2 separate regions of the Homo sapiens genome follow, and region 1 is linked to region 2. The links are contacts of gene promoters, found by promoter capture Hi-C in human tissues and cell types (Jung and others, 2019). All regions are on one chromosome and are shown on one strand. Each heading gives the region's core, a stretch centred on a gene start or on the middle of the fragment in contact. The rest is flanking DNA. Distances are from core to core; before and after follow the strand shown. Region 1 overlaps BEND7 (BEN domain containing 7). Region 2 holds the start of MCM10 (minichromosome maintenance 10 replication initiation factor).

Region 1 (2,871 bases), core at 367-2,866, 360 kb after region 2:
TCCTTATTTCACTGTATAGATGGCCATATGATTTTCCTCAGAAAACAAAATCACAGGGAGGCTGAATTGTCAACACGTTTCCTTAGATTCTATCCTTCATGAATTTATTATTTTTTTTCAATGATTTGGTCATGACCAGTGTAAGAAAAGTAAAAGACCACAATATATCACACTTTTCATTTATAGGGCAGTTGCTGAACCACAATGAGCCTTCCTGAGAAACAGAAAGAGGTGGCTTTTCCCCAGGACAGCTGCTGCCCCCATGCGGGCCGTGGCGAGCAGGCTGCAGGCTGCATGTCAGCCCCACTGGCCCCTCACAGGGCCCCCTTGGGCAGGTACAACTTCGGTGGCTGTGTGCAGGGGCCCAACTCCCTCAGAAACCCGACAGGCACTAAGGTTTGTTGGTGTGATCTTTAATACATGGCTTTATGTCCTTAAATTAAGGTAGAAAAGCTTGCTTCATGTGAAATCTGAGAAGTCAACAATGTCAACATCAGTTTACAGATGGGCCAGCGCTATCTTAAGCACCTTTCTAAAGCTGTACCTGTGTTAGAGCAGAATAAGGAACAAGCAGAACAAATGTGATTTTCCAATTTTGGTTTCCAACATGTCACTGGCTTTCATATGTGAGTTCTCCTTTTCGGTGTCTTCTGGATTTGAAAAAAGAAGTTGTATCTCACAAATCAACATCAGAAATCCCAAATTTCTACTCTAGTATGTTACAGAAGCTTAAAGTTAAATGAGGCATCTTTTAGTTTGGCTCACTAAATGTCTCTAAAATCTCAATATAGCAGTATACTTTACAATAAATCTTCAGAGTCCTAACGACAGTGTCCAATATATTCATGCATTTAAATCACATATCTGAGGACCTATCAGCAGAGTACCTATTACGGATACAGCATTGTGCTAGGTTCTCAAAGGATCCAAAATGAACTCAGGTCACATTTGCCCTCTAGGATCTGACAATTTACATTAGGAGCGATTAGGAGAGTCCTGAAAATAAACAACCACATTTCAATGTGGCAGCTGTTAAGTTTCGGAGGAGGATCTGCAGGGTGACTTGAGCACAATAAAGCCACACACAAAAATAAGTAAATATTAGGCATCACATGGTAAGTGCCAGAAAAGAGTAATGTTATTACTTAGTGCCCAAGTGATCGGAAGAATAGATAACTCCTAGGCTGGGCACGGTGGCTCACGCCTGTAATCCCAGCACTTTGGGAGGCTGAGGCAGGTGGATCACGAGGTCAGGAGATCGAGACCATCCTGGCTAACATGGTGAAACCCCGTCTCTACTAAAAAAAATACAAAAAAATTAGCCGGGTGTGGTGGCGGGCACCTGTAGTCCCAGCTACTCGGGAGGCTGAGGCAGGAGAATGGCGTGAACCCGGGAGGTGGAGCTTGCAGTGAGCCGAGATGGCGCCACTGCACTCCAGCCTGGGCAACAGAGCGAGACTCCGTCTCAAAAAAAAGAAAGAAAAAAAAAAAGAAAAGATAACTCCTAAATCTGGGAGAAGGAGAGAGAATGGGGTAATAAAAACAGAAATACAGTGTTTTCCAGTTTGAAAAAGCGTTTTACCATACAGGATTTCGCATGTGCGTCAGGAGGGCCAACGTTATTCTTCTATTACAGAAGATGAGGAAAACCCCTCAAGAGTGTTATCCAAGGTGTTAGAACTGGAGCCTGAGATTCAAAGCAAGGTTTTCTGACTCTAAATCCAACTTCTCTCTGCTACGCTATGTAAACTGAGGCGGCTTACAGGCCAAGGTAATATTTGAATTGAGCTTTAAAAACCGATAGGAGAGACAGGATTTTACTAGAAGGAGTTTGGAAATGGGGTAAGGAATGGTAGGAGGCTAGGATGGAGAAGGAGCCGCAGTGAAATGGCAGAGATGAGAATGGGAAGGTGCTTTAGGAGGGAATGATGTGATCAGTTTGACACAGCACATGTTTTCAGTGAGGGTGAAGAGCAAGAGAAGGCTGGAAGGGCGGTTTAGAAACAGACAGCGAACTGAAAGAGAGAGGAGAGCGGGGCCTCACTCCTCCAAGGCAGCATGGTACAGTGGAAAGATCGTGGCCAGGCCATGTCCAAATTCCAGATCCAGGCTCTTGTCTCCTAGTTCTATGACCTTACGTACATTAACAATTCTAAAGGCCCATTTTTCTCATATAAAAGTAGAAATGACAATACCTTCTCAGAGCTGGTCTCAGTGTTAAATGAGATAAAGTTCGGAAGTGCCCAGCACACACCGGAGGCAGTAAACAAGCCCTAGCTCCTTTCTTCCCAGCAGGAGGGGCTTTCCCAGGCCATAGCTCCTGCCCACCCCATTCCTTCTCCCTGTGGTGCCTCCTCTGCACCTGGAAGTCCTGGTTTAGGAAGCCGGTTGGCTCAAGGGAAGGCGGTTACATGAAAGCTGTGGACAGGGAGATGGGTCGGGTCAGACCGTGCATACTAGACACTCAGTGAAGGGCTTTGCCTTGATTCTAGGCCCATGACAAGGGAGCTGAAGTCTCTAAGCAGGAGAGAGGGTGAGAAGTTACGTACTGAGATCAGCCCACGTGGGCAGATTGGAGCAAGGAGCTGTGGCAGCTCTGACAAGGTGAAGAACTCAGAAGTGGATGTCAGGAGACCCCACTGGAAAGTGTGGTCAGCTACTAATGACCATGTAGCCTTGGGCAAATCACTTTCATCCCTGAGTTGAGGTTCCCATTTGTAAAACATGAGGCCGACCCAACAGCAACCTCACAGTGTAGCTGCAATAGAAACTAAATGAGAGATGGAGTGCCCGGATGGCCTAACTACAAATGCCTCCCAGACTTTAGGCAACAAGTCATACGTGAGAACGACCAAGTTCTGCATCCACAGC
Region 2 (2,708 bases), core at 21-2,520:
CTGGGATTACAGACGCGCACCACTACGCCCAGCTAATTTTTGTGTTGTGTGTGTTTTTAGTAGAGATGGGGTTTCACCATGTTGGCCAGGCTGGTCTCGAACTCCTAACCTCGTGATCCACCCACCTCGGCCTCCCAAAGTGCTGGGATTACAGGGGTGAGCCACCGTGCCCGGCCTTAGTGCCGTATGTTTAAAAGTACGCATTTAAACATACTTTTTCAATTTGATTACTAGAGTTCCTCCATTACTATGAATTTTTAACACTAGCAGCTCTCAGAAATGGTTGTATTCCTATTCCTGAGCCAATATAGGTTTAAGTAATAGGGCTGAGCTCATAAATGGAGCAGTAATATTCCATTAGGACACAGAAAAAAGTCAACGTAGATGGCATCAGGACTGTTTATCTTCAGTCTTCCTAAAGTCGATTTTAATTGTTCTGAAAATGAAAGTACGTAGTGGATAGAGATAGGATCTTATACCAAAGGGATTATTAGTGGGGGAACTGCAGTGCCTGAACAGTGTCTGCAAGGAGGAAAAGGGGGGAAAGACTTAAAGTGGCCATTTGGTCCATCAAAGTCTCTTCTGCTATCAATCCCTTGAAATTATGTAAAAGCTAAATGTTATTCTGCATTTAGAAACTATGTTCTTAGTATTATGTACAAACACTATTTTTTAGAATGTAAATACATAAAGAGGCCTGAATTTTACTGAAAAAAAAATCTGTGAAAGATATGGTCTGCTGATAAGTTCTCTTCAGCCCTGACGCCCCTTAGAAGTCCCAAAATCTATGGAACAGGAATTACTCGGGAAATGGTGGTTTCAGTGTAAAAGATGTCATCTACCCTTTCCCTCACTGCACAGATGGTGAAGGGGAAACTCAGAGAGATAAGTCACTTCCCCAAGGTCAGACAGGGTAAAAGTGGACCGGATCTGTTTGGTCCTGAGCCCAAACATTTCGAATGGACATAAGGCTGACAAAGGAACAGTCGGTCCCAGAGCGTCAGGAGTTGAGGTGGGATGGGACCGCAGGGAAAATACTGGGTGGGATGACTTAAACTTCCCGGCACCAGGGGGCGCCAGACACTCTATTTTACCTAAAGGAGACTGGCTTCTACCGACAGGAAGGTCCCTTGCCCCCAACAAAGAGGGCGTCCAATGACGTAAACCAATCCGATTGCTCTGTGCCAGGGCCGGGATTCGCTGGCGTAGCCAGTCAGTGCTGCCCCACAGCCGCGTGCGTCTGACGTCAAGGCAGGGGCGGGATCCGGTTGGAATTTTGGCGGGTTCAGCTGTGAACGAAGAAGGCGTCCCGGCATCGGGTGAGGAGCGCGGGCCCCGGGCGTGCGTGTGACCCTCGGGCGGCGGGGCCGGGGCCGCCTCGCACGTCTCTGCGCGGGTTGCAAGGGGTCCGAGGCTAGAGGCGCGGGGTCCCGGGAGCTCGGGTGGGCGCGATCTGGATTTGGCGGCAGCTTGGGACCGCTCGGAGCTGGCATGGCCGGGCCGGGGGCTGGGAGTTGCTGGCCGTCTACTAAGGAATCGGGTTCTTCCTTTTAAACGCAGCCTTTTAAGTGCTTGCCAAGTGCCTGCCGCCTGGGCTTTCTTTTATTCATTCATTCATTCATTCATTCATTGGTTTCTCGTATTCATGATTTGCCAATGATTATTGAATGCGGACGGTGTGCATGGCTCGGATCACATTTCCGCTGCCTTCACAGCGCTTACAGTTTAAAGGCACGAGCAGGTAGTAAACAAATGCACGACAGTGGACGACTCAGGGTGGTCCAGAAAGTCTCAGAAAGATGAGTAAGTGGAGACCGAAGGGCGAGAAGGACCTGGGGGGAGCTTTCTTCGACAGAGCCTGAGACCTCAAAGCAGCTTAGTGTGTTCCAGAAGGTGGAAGCGGGCTGGCCCGGCTGGAGCATCGTTATGGGTGTCGGGGTGGGTAGAATTGGACGTGGTGGATTGTGGAAAATGTGAGGGAGTAGAAAGCTTGGAAAGAGAGAGAGAATATGAATCATTGCCTCGCAGGCTTTGTAGATTTTTTCTAAGGGCAATGGAAAATCATTAAAGAATTTCAATGAAGGGACCCCCATGATCTGATTTATGTTCCTAAAGGTTACTAAGGAAAGGGAAGATTACCGTGGCTGTCGTATGCAGAACAGATTGCACGGGGACAAAGAGACCAACATAGAAAGCTAACACAGTCATTGGGTTAAAGGTTGACGGTGGCTTGGCCTAGGGTTCTGGCAGTGAAGTTGGAGAGAAGTGGCAGATTTGAGCAGTGTTTTGGAGATGGGACCACAGTACTTGTCAGTGGCCGTGGATTTGAGGGCGAGGGAGGGTGCACAGTTTCATTTTGGGGGAAGGCAAGGCCGGTTACAGACTTGAACGAGACAGTTTGCTCCTAACGCTCAGGAAGCTTACTGTCCAATAGGTTCCCCAGTAGATAGCACAGTGTGTGGCACATGAGGGATCCGTGGAAATGTTGGTTGAATGAATTTTTAAAAAGCGGCCAGGCGCGGTGGCTCACGCCTGTAATCCCAGCGCTTTGGGAGGCCAAGGCGGACGGATCACCAGGTCAGGAGATCGAGACCATCCTGGCTAATACGGTGAAACCCCATCTCTACTAAAAATACAAAAAATTAGCCGGGCGTGGTGGCGGGCGCCTGTAGTCCCAGCTACTCGGGAGGCTGAGGCAGGAGAATGGC

Evidence for each region. The method cuts DNA at HindIII sites, captures the fragments that hold promoters and counts their contacts. A contact is called where the count stands out against the background at its distance.
Region 1: a fragment that was not itself captured here is called in contact with the fragment with the promoter of MCM10 in region 2 in 1 of the 25 tissues and cell types used here (heart left ventricle).

Annotation. Positions count from the first base shown.
Region 1 is chr10:13,518,009-13,520,879 of GRCh38, forward strand. All of the region lies in intron 2 of BEND7 (BEN domain containing 7), which reads right to left. Among named protein-coding and RNA genes, the nearest start is that of BEND7-DT, 9.2 kb to the right of the region's middle. The HindIII fragment of the contact is 3,108 bases long and covers 63-2,871 here.
Region 2 is chr10:13,160,288-13,162,995 of GRCh38, forward strand. It overlaps MCM10 (minichromosome maintenance 10 replication initiation factor), which reads left to right and starts at 1,271. Exons shown (of 20, transcript NM_018518.5): 1 at 1,271-1,319. RefSeq lists silencers at 1,020-1,333, 1,356-1,535. The HindIII fragment of the contact is 5,218 bases long and covers 1-2,204 here.